4 separate regions of the Homo sapiens genome follow, and regions 2, 3 and 4 are each linked to region 1. Evidence: promoter capture Hi-C in human tissues and cell types (Jung and others, 2019). All regions are on one chromosome and are shown on one strand. Each heading gives the region's core, a stretch centred on a gene start or on the middle of the fragment in contact. The rest is flanking DNA. Distances are from core to core; before and after follow the strand shown. Region 1 holds the start of KCNH6 (potassium voltage-gated channel subfamily H member 6). Region 2 overlaps MAP3K3 (mitogen-activated protein kinase kinase kinase 3). Region 3 overlaps TANC2 (tetratricopeptide repeat, ankyrin repeat and coiled-coil containing 2). Region 4 overlaps DCAF7 (DDB1 and CUL4 associated factor 7).

Region 1 (3,428 bases), core at 349-2,848:
ATCTGTCTTCAGCTCCTGACTTACGCTTCTGTTCTGCTTGCAGTATGCTCCAGCTGGCAGTAACAACCCAAACTCCATCTGAATGAGCTTCTTGGTCAGGGAAAACTCCAGACCCTGTCTCCCCAAAGAGCTGAGACTGGATAAGGCAGGCCCACCCCACTTTGCCAGCCAAAAGCCCCCATGCCTTGCCTGGCCACAGAGGTCTTCAGGAGGTGACTCCTCCTCTAATCCTTGGAGCAGACGGAGAGGAGGGAAGGTTAATTTCCATCCCAGCTGCCTGACCGCTGGGGCTGACAGTAAGATAGTGGAGAGCCAGGAGACCAGGGACACAGCAGAGGGATGGCAGAGCAGGAGGCCCTGCCCCAGGCCAGAACCAGTGGGTGGCCCAGCCTGATCCCTAGCTCCTGCAAAGGACCTCAGAAGGCATCATATCCAATGCCTGTGGAGGAACCAAGGCCCCTAGAAGAAACAGGGTTTGTTCAGGCCCTTTGGACCCTGGGTCAGTGCCTTCCCCAAGGCCACCCTGGCTGGACAAGACAGAGGGCCAAGCCTGCCCTGCAAAGCCTCTGGCCTGAGTATGCCTCACCATCCTTGCGGTAGTAGAGGATGTCCACCTTGCACTCCTCAGCCCCCAGCAGGGCCTGCGCTAGGCGGGACACGGCGCTGCTTGGTGTGTTGGGGCCTGTGAGGAAGTCGCAGGTGCAGGGTTGCTGCATCACCTCCACTCGGGAGTAGCCGAAGAGTTCGCAGAAGCCGTCGTTGCAGTAAATGATGGCGCAGTTCTCCATCTGAGCATTGGCAATCAGGAACTTCCGACCTGGGGTGGGAGGTGGGAGGCAAAAAGTCCATGGGAGCCAGGATCCAGCGGCTGGGAGGGAAAGATCATAAGGACTCTTGGTGGCAGTAAGGGGAATTTAGGCAGAGGAGCAGGGCAGTGACCGGAATGAGGGAGGGAGTCAGGCCTGGGGATTGTGGGAAGACTAGGGCAGTGAGGGTCTTGAGGTGGAAGGAAGGCCCAAGGCCTCCTGGAAACAGGAAAAGTGTGGGGAAGGGAGGCAGGGATGTGACCAGATGGGGGTCAGGCCTGGGAAAGCTCCTGGGAAGACCAGAACCAGGATATGAAAAGGAAGGAAAAGAAGGACTCAGAGAAGCCTCTGGAGGACGCGGATGAGGGGGCAGGCAGTGGCTGGAAGGGGAGGTTCGAACTTGGGGCACCAAGGAAACAGCTGGCAGTAGGGAGGGAAGGCCTGCACGCTGCTCCTTGTGTTCCAGAAAAGAGGACAGCATTTAAGGCAAGCGGGTCCCCCTGGAGGAGAAGGTGTTGGGGACATCAAAAGAAGGATTTTTCATTCAGCACCCGGCACTCACCACCTTGCCCGGTTAGAAGTTAGTAAAGGGGTCCAGCCCCCCCTTTCACGGAACCAGGACTCCAGATCGTCCCCCCGCCCCAACATACACACACTCACTTTGGCCCTCGAACTTGCGGATGATGGTGTCCAGGTAAGTGTTTTGGGGAGCGACGTGGCCCCTGCGGACCGGCATCTTTCGGCCGCGGCCCCTGCCCGGAGCCACAGGCGCCACTGGCTCCCGGCGTCTCCGTCTGTCCTCGGGCTCAGCAGCGTCCGGCTCCGGTGGGCGCCGCCCCCGGGGAGGGCCGCCGGGCTCCGCGCCCCGCCCGCCAGCCTGCGTCTGCCCTCCCCTCCCCACCCCTGCCCCACCTCTCCTTTCCTTTCCTGCGCTCCCCTGCCCTCCCCTCGCCTCCCTGGCCCGCGCCCTCCTGGCCTCCTCTCCTCTGCGCCGGCCCGGGAGCTGTCCACGCCTTGGTGCTGAAAGAAGCCGCGCGCCGGCGGCGGGGAGGGGGCCGCTGGGCGGGGCAGTTTCTCTGGGACCCGACGGGGCTGGGGCGGGGCCTTGCATCCTACGGGGCGGGGCGGGGCGGGGCGGGGCGGGGCTGGGGTCCTGGCCCTGGAATAGGGCAGGTGTTCTCTGAGGAGCTGCTTCTGTTCCTGTCCTAAGGGCCAATGGCCTCAGCACCTCTCCGATTCCCTCCCAGTACCAAAGGGCAGTCTCCCCTCCCAGTGCAGGGAGTTTCCCAGGCAGGAGGGGGGCTACAGATGGGGTTGTTAGGGGCCTCAGGTGGTCTTTGGCTGAAAGCTTTCTTCCGGGTCTGACCACTGGGCCCGACCCTGGCAATGATACCATTAGGCCTCTGGCCTGCTCTTATAGCAAGTGATCTCCAGCTCAGCTGAGACCTAGGTCCCATGCAGAGCTCCTGCCGCCAAGTCCAGCCAGGGCCTGGTCCTGAGAGGAGGGGGTAGGAGTACACATGAAGACGTGCAAGAAATATGCAATAAGGGCCAGGCGCGGTGGCTCACGCCTGTAATCCCAGCACTTTGGGAGGCAGAGGTGGGCAGATTACCTGAGGTCAGGAGTTTGAGACCAGCCTGGCCAACATGGCGAAGCCCTGTCTCTACTGAAAAAACAAAAATTAGCTGAGTGGTGGCGCAAACCTATAATCCCAGCTACTTGGGAGGCTGAAGTGGGAGAATCGCTTGTACCCGGGAGGCGGAGGTTGCAGTGAGCCGAGATTGCGCCACTGTACTCCAGCCTGGTAGACAGAGCGAGACGCGAGACTCCATCTGAAAATAAAAAGAAAGAAAGAAAGAAGTATGCAATAAGATGCCTTCTTCAGAGGCCTGAGAGCTCTTAGCATACAGGTACATCTTGGAAGGAGAACAGATTTAAAACCACCTATTAGCAAGTGACCACTGATAAAAGTGTCTGAGTACTGAGTACTGACTGAAAATGAACACACTAGAAAAAGCAAATGGGGGTGGGAATAGGTTTATTGAAAGAGGCTTCCTGGAGAGGAAGGGGAGAAGGGGACTACTGTTCACTGAGCATCTGGGTGGGCTTGTAGTGCTGCAGAGGGTTTGGTGAGCAATTTTGAGCCTGATCTTGGAGGGCAAGCATTCAAATGGGGCATGCACCTTAGGCAAAGGCCAAAGGTGATGTCAGTGCAGAGGGGCTGGGGTGGGGGGAACAAGGGGGTGTGGGAGAGGTGAGTTTGGAGGAAGGAGGTAATTAATAAAGACCCTCAGATGCCATTTTGAACATCTAGATTTAATTGATGAACAACCAAGTTCTTAAGCAATTAGACATGAAAGAAATATTCTGGTGACATAAACTTTACAATGGTGGGTGGGGGAGGAAGGATAGACAAGGAGGCTCAGCAAGGTTTTTACTGGAGTCCAGGTGAGAGGCTTAGAGTCCTGGGCTGGATGTGTGTTTGTCATGCAGAGCCACAGTGCCTAGTGGGGGCCTCTTTGGCCACTGTGGCTGGGGGATGAGAAGAGGGCAGAGATGTCCTGGCTGCCCCTCTGTTGGACAGGCTGGCTGTGGAGGAAAAGAAGGGGCTATTTCTCATG
Region 2 (3,428 bases), core at 265-2,764, 110 kb before region 1:
CTAACTGTTTATACTTCCTTCACAGCCTAGTTCAAGTGCCCTTCCACCTGAAATGACTCCATAGCTCCTCTGGCCCAGGCTCATCTTTCATTTTCCTGGCCTTCTATAGCACTTACTCTCTGTACCACACAGTGAGGCATAGTCATATCATACTTTCTTTTTTTCATGTAGTCCTCACTTCCCAGTAAGACTGCATGATTCCTGGGGTACAGGGAATATGACATACCTTTCTTTTTTCTTTTTTTTCTGAGATGGAGTCTTGCTCTGTCGCCCAGGCTGGAGTGCAGTGATCTCGGCTCACTACAACCTCCGCCTCCCAAGTACAAGCGATTCTCCCACCTCAGCCTCCCAAGTAGCTGGGATTACAAGCACCTATCATCATGCCCAGCTAATTTTTGTATTTTTGTACAGACAGGGTTTCACCACGTTGGCCAGGCCAGGTGATCCGCCTGCCTCGGCCTCCCAAAGTGTTGGGGTTACAGGCATGAGCCACCACTCCTGACCGACATACATTTCTTTTGTGTGTCTGAGAAGCGTGACCATAGGCACATGTTAAACTGAATGGAGGTGTCAGCTACTGAGAAAAAAGTTCTAGTACAGAAATTCAGGTCTAAGCAGCTTCATGTCCCCTCCCCACCACAGGCAATCCGGTGAGAGCAGTAGTGACAGCCACGCTCAGGAGAGAGACAGTGCGGGCTGTCGGGTTGAGCTACAGATTCAGGGACTCAGCAGGAGCAACAGGAATAACTGACAATAACACTAAAGCAGAAATGACCTTCTCAAAGTCTGGACTCAACAGCTGAACATGTAGCCCAAAAAGCTTTCAAGAATCCAGAAAAATCAGGATTTATTAACCAAAGGTTTATGAACTAACTTGACCTGAAAAAGGCCTCAGTTACCCATCATTCTTCTTATCCTCGCTCTGATTCTGTACTGATTTCTCTCCCTGCATTTGCTACATACCTTTGATGCCTCCCCACATTTCTGGAATTGCAGTCCTTATTTTGCCAAAGAGAGTAAGTGAATGAAAGGAAAAAAAAATACAACAAAAATTAAAATTTTATTTTTAAGCATGACTCTGGAAAGTTGTAGGAGATCAGTGGAAGAGACGATTATAAAGCAATCTTCTTACAAAATATAATGCCAGGCTTGTGTGTTGTTTTATATCTTATTTTCAAACTGGCCAGCCCATCTTATCAACAACCCTTGAAAGAGAAGGGAGGTCCTGAAGAGCCAGGTCTTTCACACTGAAAGCAAAAGACAGTCTGCTCAATCACTGACCCTGCTGGGGGAACAGATCCTGGAATTCTCTTCCTCTAGAAATGATAGCCAAGGCCCTGCCCTGCTTGTGCCTATCATGAAGAAAGCAGCTTTTCTGTTCTGAAGCACCCACTCATGAACATCTGGAGGGTTAGATCCAGAGCCCAGACTCTGTTCAAGTATCTACCTACCATTTTGATAAGATTCAAGGGAAACAGGAATCCATGGAAATAAGGATTCCATTTCTTCCTCCACTGGGATTTTCAGAAATTAGGCTAGCTTCAGAAATTTGCAAAGATCATCAGATAAACAGTAATGATAATCCCATAAAGAGAGAAAAACCTTAATCCTTTCAGTTCCACAACACTATGGACAGTTGTAGTTAGAAGCTTTCCCCAAAGCTCACACCTGCAGTGCCAGAACATAAGAAGTGACATAACCACTGCAACTTCACATTTGTACATTTGTTTTACAATGTACAAAATATTTCACATTCTGTCTATGATCTTACAACAATCTTAAGAGGTAGACACAGTGAGTATTAAGTCTATATTTCAGATGGAAAAACTCACTTCAGAAAGGTTATATGACTTATACATGGTAAAATTACGGTGACTAGGAATCAGAAGGCTTGGATTTACTTCCTGCCTCTACTCAATACCTTTGTGTAAAAGCTGTGTAAACCTTATACACATGCTTATAGCATTGATGTTAACTGTTGTTGAAAGCACTCTATAAATTATAAAATCCTACATTAATAGATGAGTAACAACTCTATGACTCCTAGGCCAGTACTCTTTTTTTTTTTTTTTTTTTGGTTGGTCTCAGTTTTTAATAGTGGCAGGGCCTCACACACTTGCACACGTGCGCATGCACGCACACACACTCTAAGGCTTCAGACCTTGTTGAAAGCTGCAACATCGACACTCTACACACGCTCTCAAACTTGGTAATCTCCTCTTCCAGAAAGTTTGTCCCCACCTTGTCGTCCCCCACCACACACTGAATCTGCAGCTTCCGGATACCGTAGCCCATGGGCACCAGCTTGGAGGCCCCCCTAGACCAGCCCGTCCAGCTGGATGAAGCGCATACAGGCCTCCAATTGGGCTATATTGGTCTCATTGTCCCAAGGCTTGATGTCCAGCGGGATGGAGGACTTGACCACCAACGCAGTCTTCTTGGCCTTCTTCTCCACATACCACCTCAGCCACTTCTCCCACAGCCGGGCTGCCTCCTTGTCTTCCTCCTCATTGTCGCTGACAAACAGGTCAATGTCATTGTCCTTGTCACCCTCTGCTAGTGTGGCTGCCTTCTTGGCTGGGGGCTCCACTTGGCACATGGGAGACACATGCTGGATCTGCGTGGCTGTGTCCCTGTGGCCAGGCAAGCTCTTCTCCAGCATGTTCAGCCACAGGCCAGCACTCTTTTCACTATACTAAGTTGTCAGACCCACAGAGAACTAACACCCATTGATAACTCACTGTGAGTTAATGACTGCTAAAGGGACACTGCACATCATGGCCTGCAAAACTATCCATAGGACCCAGCCACACGTAGGATGTGCCACACATCTAAGAATATTCAGTCAGCTCTAACCACGCTGTAGGCTTCCAGAGACCCAATATACAAAAGGGAGAATACAGCAAATGCTCCTAGTGTACAGTATTCTCTGTACTCCTAGAATACAGAGAATACAGAATCTACCTCCTAGAAAATTGTTAATAGCTCACTGCCCATGTACTTCCATAGCTGCCTATTTGTTCTCAAATCCATTCTCTTTTTCAATTACTTACCAAGCTTGTTTACTTAGGGAAAAGGATGTCTCAAGTCTTGCTAAGCAGAGATATTAAATTAGATTTTTCAGTTCTTCCAGGCCTCGGCACCCAAACAATCCTGTTAATGAACCCACAGCTCCTCTGGCTTTCCTTGCTGGGCCAAGCTTGAGCTCCATGAAGCTGTGCCAGTCTCGACTCTGCCTTGTAGCCAGCACTGCCATTCTCATAGTGAAAGGCTGTTTGCCTCTGCCAGCCCCATTCCACCCTTGAATAAACAACCTTTCCAGCTAGCCAAAATGCTTAGCTTCTTTCAACTGGGACTCTGTAATTTGAATCTGTAATCCAATTAGACATTTCTTAACCAAATTTGGCAACTCTTCACCATTTAAATTA
Region 3 (3,428 bases), core at 695-3,194, 98 kb after region 1:
GAGTCATAGAAAACCTAAAGGAAAACTAAGTGCATTAAAGCTTTTTCCAGCAAGTGTCTTGAAAGGACAGCAAAGAGGAGGAAGAATCAAAATCATATTAGTACAAATCACTCTTTAATTGTAGACTGTACATGTCTGTACTAATTAAAATCATCTTGGATTTGGAGGAGACAGAACAGAGACAAAGATGCTGTGCTAGATGGAAAGGAGGCCACGCCTGAAAAGGCACCTGCCCTGAGCCTGATGAGGAACTGGCCTCACTCAGCAGGAATCAGCCAAAGGAAACAAAAAACAAAACAAAACCAGAACAGGAAGTGTAACTTACAGGATTTCCAAAATCACCTGTGAATGAAGTGGAGATCTGGAGCCGGCATCTCTTAACTTTTTTTTTCCCCCCAGTAAATTGGTATGCAATAAGGCAGGTACATTCAAGTACTGAATTTTCCAGAATTAACTCTTGTCTGGCGCTGGGGACCAAAGGGATTGAGTTGAGCCCCCTCTAACCAGACTTTCTGGTTAGCGATTAGCAAAAGAAAAATTCAGCCAGCAAGTGCTACAAAAACAAAGCAGCTAGGGCACTTCCGTTCCACAGAGTAGGTCTACCTGGAAAAATGAGCGCGGCGCTGGCCTGATCTCTACGCGTCCAGCGGCAGCCTGGCAAGTCAGCTCAGCGTCGGTATCAGAGTCAGCAGGAGGCAATGAGATGATGGGGTGAGGAAACATGAAAGTAACACTTGATTTTTGGTGTCCAATTATGCGTTCATTTGGTACTGACTTTCAAAGCTCTGACTGTGGCCACCATGTGGCCACAAGCATCTCAGGGTGGCTCACCTGCTGTGAGGCTTTGGACACCGAAATGAAGGTTACCAACACTTCAGCCCTTGAGTGGTCTGTATGACAAAAGGAGTTGATGAAAACCCAGTGATTATTCAAGTAGCTCTGCACAGTGGCTCCACCAGCCCCATTGTGCTTGTGTCCAGGCCCCCAGCCAGCCACCTTTTCTTGGGAGCAGCCAGAGCTGAGTTCAAGGCATTGCATGGTGAAGGGTTCCATGACACGTCTTTGCAGGTAGCTCTTGCCCCTAAGCCCTTTGTTCATTGTTGTTAGTCATGGTAGATGGTCGGTCTGGAATTCCTAGAGGAAGAGGAGAAAGAGCTGCACCTCCCAGTGAGCGAGCAGCAGGACCGCACAGCCCTCGGTGTGGAGGCAGCAGCCGGCTGCCTTTGCAGGTCGGTTTCTTGAGAAATGGGCAGCCCAGGAACAGACAGGCAGGGTGTGCGAGGCTGCTGGGCACTGGGAGCATCAAGAGGAGGCTGGGCACAGGGGCGGGCACCTCTTGCCCCCTGGGATAGCCTATTCCATTTTGTGGCAAAGATTCAGTGAGCACTGGTTTTGTCCAAGGCATTTCTGCAGTAGAAAAATAACTCTCTCTGAATCAAACCACCCAACTGTGACGCTTCTGGAGTTATAAAAGCTGGAGGCTGAGAGGAACTGACAGGAGGGAGGCTCATGGGGAAGAAGGGGCTTCTCCATGTACCCATCCCTCTACCAGAGCAAGGGAGCTCTGGTCAACCTTCTTCCAGCCTCTGCCTGGCTGAAGTCCAAAGCATGTAGTGTTCAAAGAGTTCGTCTTGCACAACTGGCACAGATGCACGAAGACCCCTTCCAGGCCTCTGTTGCCTTCTCCTGAACCTCTGAGCCCGCTTGCCTGTTGCCCTGGAAGCAGCTCCTCTCTCCCGAGGGGATGCCGCTGTTCTTTGCTACAAAACAAGCGCAGTGCAGAGCCACAGTGACACCTAGTGGTAAACTATGGTGAAGCACAAGTGACATCCACATAGCCCACTGTACGTGACTAAAATCTAAGGAAAAATACTTATGGATATTAAATTAGATACTGATTAATTTTTAATTTTTTCTATTGGGTACATCTCTGGAATATAAAAATACCAATATTTAGAGAGGGGCTCATAAACTACTATACAATATTAAGGACTGAGAATACCTTTCTCTAAGCTGTTCTGTTTACAATAATTTAGGAAAAGTGTTTAATAATCCAGGCTTAACTACATTAGCAAACTTGTATATCTGGACAACGACCTGGGGTACTGTACATGATTCTAATTAGTGGAATTTTCCTGAGCCATCGAGTTTAAGTTATACACATCTAAAAAGAGGGGCACATGGGGGAGGAGCGAGAAGGGTTTGTGCTCTATTAACTTGGGACTTTAATAGTGCACGTCTGCAACCCGGACAAGATACAACAGCAGATACAAAATGGTCTCCATTTTGTCATGCCAAATTCTCATGTTACACAGGTTTTCCCTTTACTTTGTAAATAAACATTAATTGTTAATTGTTAATTGTGTGCCTTACTGATCCAGTAGATAAAGTAACCGTGTCTCAGGAGTCCCTAAGAACATTGCTGGAAAAGCACTTTAAAATCACTGCAAATATTTTTCATATTAAAAAATTCTTAATCTTTTTGATGCTTATATACAAGTTATTTCTTGTGCTATAAATGTTGTGATCCACTGCTTGATGTCTTTCCTTTCCTTTTTTCTTGAAAAATACACTAAAAGACAAGAGCGGTTCTGCTATTTTCTAATGAAGACATTACTCACACTTAAATATCCAGTACTTCAGTTACAAATTCAAACAGTAAAGTGCACCCATTTATAGACATGATGTGATAGAAACCCATTAGTGCAAGAATCCTGGGCCAATGGAACATACAACTTGGTGAGAAACCTATTAAACTGAAGTTTGTCACCTCTGTCCTCCATTTCAGGGTGGTATGAATTGAGTAAGTTTCATCTGAAACATTTCCTCCCACCTGAAGCCAGACATGGACTCAGCGAGTGTTTGCTGCTGGGGAAGGGGCAGCTCTGAAATACAGTACTCGGATCATTCCATGGCAGTGAAGTAGCAAACAGGGCACAGGGCACAGGCAGTCTGCTTGTAAGGAAAAACGTCTCCTGCCCCAACAAGCTCTGGTTGGCATATTCTAGTCAAAAACAACTGGCATGCAGCAGTGATACCTACTCCCTCTTATGATGGCCAAAAAGAATGGCATTTTGACTGTTGACATTTTAGGTGTTTTGCCCATAGGGTATAGGCCCTAAATCTTTTTGTCCTGGAAAACTGAGAGACCCTGGGGAGAAGCGGCATCAGCGGCATATTTGTAAAGCTACAGGACCTGCTCATTCGCCTGGACAGGTGAGTGCGGGTGGTGTGTGGCGTTCCAAATGAGCAGGAGCACTTTCCTGACAGACACTGAGAAATTCTTCAAAATGCAGTGGCTCCTCAGCGAGAGGCGGTTTTAAGGAGTAAGATGTAAAGATGCCAGCAGTGCTGAGACCTGGCCAAAAAGCAATCTGAGAGGCCACTGGGCTCCTGGCTAGAGGTTGCCGCTAGAGCTACACATTTCA
Region 4 (3,428 bases), core at 600-3,099, 72 kb before region 1:
TGTGTTGTCCAGTACTAACAGCTCTCAATGAATGAGATTACATTAGTTATTAGTCCAGATACTTAGCCGATTTGCTAGTATGGCTGAGACATAATTATTCACTACTTCACTTCCTTTTCCAGGGTACACAGGAAGACTACATTTCTTGACTTGACCTTCCTTGCAGTTGGCAGATAGGAGCAAAAGTGAGTAAGCCACTTCCCGGCCCATCCTGAAAAATGTACTCCCTCCCACCCCCCATAAGCAACCTGGAGGTCACACGTTTATTTTTATTTTTTGAGATGGAGTCTTGCTCTGTTGCCCAGGCTGAAGTGCAGTGGTGCGATCTTGGCTCACTGCAACCTCCACCTCCCGGGTTCAAGCTATTCTCCTGCCTCAGCTTCCCAAGTAGCTGGGACAACAGGCGTGTGCCACCATGCCTAGCTAATTTTTGTATTTTTAGTAGAGATAGGGTTTCACCATGTTGGCCAGGCTGGTCTCGAACTCCTGACCTCAAGCTATCTGCCCCTCCCTCCCCCCTCAGCCTTCCAAAGTGCTGGGATTAGAGAGTTGAGCCACTGCACCCGGCCCAGAGGACTTTGTGTAAGCAAAAAATAAGCTTTTGTAGTGCTCAGTTTCTGAGATTTGGGGGTTTGTTGCCGCAGCATAGGCTAGCCTATAAATAGTATTACTCTCTGTTTTCTCCTTAAAAACCAGAGAGCAGGACTCATGTGTTTCTCACAAAATATACATTGTCAGACCATATAGCAGCACAGTTCCAAAGGACCAGCAGGTACTCATAAAACTTAAATTCTCTGCCAGGCACGGTGGCTCACGCCTGTAATCCCAGCACTTTGGGAGGCCGAGGTGGGTGGATCATCTGAGGTCGGGAGTTTGAGACCAGCCTGACCAACATGATGAAACCCCATCTCTACTAAAAATATAAAATTAGCCAGGCGTGGTGGCACATGCCTGTAGTCCCAGCTACTCAGGAGGCTGAGACAAGAGAATCGCTTGAACCCGGGAGACGGAGGTTGCGATGAGCCGAGATCGCGCCATTGCACTCCAGCCTGGGCAACAAGAGCGAAATTCTGTCTGAAAAAAAAAAAAAATTAAATTCTCAAGAGCACATACTTCCCTTCACAGATCCACTGCCACCGGCTCCATATCAGCTGACACAATGGCAGGTACTTACCGAATACAGGTTCACGGAACCAATCAGTTTGCCTTTCTTCTCTTCCTTCACAGTGGCCCAACATGAAGAATAAAAATATAAATAAATGGGGGTAGTATTTCATCCAGGACACACAGCATTTGAAGAGCAGTGGGATAGGAACTCCCCCACCCTACCGTGTGGGGCATAGGTTTGGGAAATTAGCAGGGACTTGGACATTCCTAGTCAGCCATCAGAACCTGTCCAAATCCAAAAGATCTGGGAGTTATTTCTCTGTCCTCCTTCACAATCAATAAATTACTAAATGCTGATGACTGCATCCCTCTTTACTTGTGCCCTGTCCTCTCCATCCTTGCCGTGGCTGCTGCTGCCGCCGCCGCCTTAGTTCAGGGTTTTTCTCTCACCCTATAAGAAGGAAGAGGCACTTTTTCATTGCCTATCCTTCTAAAATGCAATTCTGATGACTCCTCTCTGTGTATGTTTTCCAGGATCATACAGAAGTGTAATGTCTAAAATTTCTGCAAAGCGGGAGACTTTCCCTGCCCTGGCTCCTGTATACATCTCTAGCTACATTTCCCACTATTCACCCCACCTCAACCTGCAATTCTCTAAATATGACCATACTTTCTTGCCTCCATAGATTTGCACATGGGTGTTCTCTCTGCCTTAAAGGACATTCCCTATTTCCAGATAACTCCTACTCAGCCTTCAAAACCCAGCTTAGGCATCCATCTTAAGTAGTTTTCGCTGACCCCATGTGGCTCCCACACAGGCAGAGGTGATCACCTCCTCCTGAGGGGTGATGCCTAAACACATCCATTATCGCACAACAATGCAAGTTATTTGGTTTTTTTGTTTTTTGTCTTTTAAAAATTTGGGTGGGAGGGGGTAGGGATAAAAGACTACCAATTGGGTACAGTGTACACTGCTCCGGTGATGGGTGCACCAAAATCTCAGAAATCATCATTAAAAAAACTTATTATCCACATAACCAAAAACCACTTGTTCCCCCAAAACTATTAAAATAAAATAAATGCCAGGTGCGGTGGCTCACACCTGTAATCCCAACACTTTGGGAAGCTGAGGCAGGCGTATCACAAGGTCAGGAGTTCGAGACCAACCTGACCAACACGGTGAAACCCCGTCTTTACTAACAATACAAAAATCAGTCGGGTGTTGTGGCACATGCCTGTAATCTCAGCTACTCAGGAGGCTGAGGCAGGAGAATAGCTTGAACCGGGAGGTGGAGGTTGCAGTGAGCCGAGATCGCGCCATTGCACTCCAGCCTGGGTGACAGAGCGAGACCCCGTCTCAAAAAAAGAAAAAAGAAATGCAAAAAAAAAGATTTGTCTTAGATCTTAGTCTGGCTAAAAGAAATTTTTTTTTTTTTTAATAAAAATGACTGATTGATTGAGACAGGGTCTTGCTATGTTGCCAAGGCTGGTCTTGAACTCCTGGCCTCAAGTGATCCTCCCACCTCAGCCACCCCCATGCCTCAGCTGGGATCACAGACCACTGTGCCCGGCCACAAGTATTTATGTAGATGTCTCCTCTGGTAGACTGCAACCAACTTGAGGGCCATGTCCCCTGGCATAGAGGAGGTGCTCCACTGAATTAACAAGTGAATGACTAAATAGGATATAAAAGGTGATGAGTAGACTGCCCGGCTCGGGCTGGGGCACTGCCACTGTCTATGGAACATGACCAAAGTGACAAAATGGGAAGAACTGAATTCGTCACAAAAAGAAATTCAGTCAATCTATACATGTTCAAGTTTTATTACAAAGTATGATGGGCAGAAAATACGGTACTTCTTATACAGGAGGCTGAAACAGAATGAAAGGGTGAAAATTAGGTTTAATTTACTTAGGAAACAAGAAATAGAAAGTCATAGCTATAACACTCCACTTTCAGGTGCCCATGAAGTAGCCTTCAATGGAGATTCCCCATAGTTGTTTCACAGCACAGTGTTAAAATTTTATTACAAGCCCTGTGTACAATCAGTCCTGTGAAAATATTTATAAAAGAAAAATATTACAGTACAGTTCTGCAAGGGGCAGCTTCCTCTACACCTGACCGTGGATGCCACAAAACCTATAATATAGAGGGAAAGTTTAAATATATAACAAGAATGGAAGTTCAGACATACTAGGCTAAAGGACACAGAAATGGATCAGTTAGAGCTTAACATTTCAGAGCAAGAAATCTCCATTTTCTACATAGAGGTTTATACAATCATGCTACAAATTCACTCTGGGTGGGGTGGGGAAGGAAG

The links. Contacts are between HindIII fragments. The study calls those that stand out against the background at their distance.
Region 2: a fragment that was not itself captured here is called in contact with the fragment with the promoter of KCNH6 in region 1 in 8 of the 25 tissues and cell types used here (bladder, dorsolateral prefrontal cortex, heart right ventricle and 5 more).
Region 3: a fragment that was not itself captured here is called in contact with the fragment with the promoter of KCNH6 in region 1 in 5 of the 25 tissues and cell types used here (aorta, heart left ventricle, mesendoderm cells and 2 more).
Region 4: a fragment that was not itself captured here is called in contact with the fragment with the promoter of KCNH6 in region 1 in 6 of the 25 tissues and cell types used here (IMR-90 fibroblasts, dorsolateral prefrontal cortex, lymphoblastoid cells and 3 more).

The regions. Positions count from the first base shown.
Region 1 is chr17:63,521,528-63,524,955 of GRCh38, reverse strand. KCNH6 (potassium voltage-gated channel subfamily H member 6) reads right to left here and starts at 1,598. Exons shown (of 13, transcript NM_001278919.2): 1 at 1,467-1,598; 2 at 587-817. The coding sequence starts at 1,542. The HindIII fragment of the contact is 20,898 bases long and covers 1-3,428 here.
Region 2 is chr17:63,635,841-63,639,268 of GRCh38, reverse strand. The region is part of intron 2 of MAP3K3 (mitogen-activated protein kinase kinase kinase 3); the gene reads right to left. It also overlaps the pseudogene EEF1DP7. Among named protein-coding and RNA genes, the nearest start is that of MAP3K3, 15 kb to the right of the region's middle. The HindIII fragment of the contact is 5,071 bases long and covers 1-3,428 here.
Region 3 is chr17:63,423,944-63,427,371 of GRCh38, reverse strand. It overlaps TANC2 (tetratricopeptide repeat, ankyrin repeat and coiled-coil containing 2), which reads right to left. Exons shown (of 28, transcript NM_001394998.1): 28 at 1-3,428. Among named protein-coding and RNA genes, the nearest start is that of CYB561, 21 kb to the left of the region's middle. RefSeq lists an enhancer at 922-1,660. The HindIII fragment of the contact is 4,240 bases long and covers 1-3,428 here.
Region 4 is chr17:63,593,754-63,597,181 of GRCh38, reverse strand. DCAF7 (DDB1 and CUL4 associated factor 7) reads right to left here. Exons shown (of 7, transcript NM_005828.5): 7 at 2,916-3,428. Among named protein-coding and RNA genes, the nearest start is that of TACO1, 5.4 kb to the left of the region's middle. The HindIII fragment of the contact is 6,157 bases long and covers 1-3,428 here.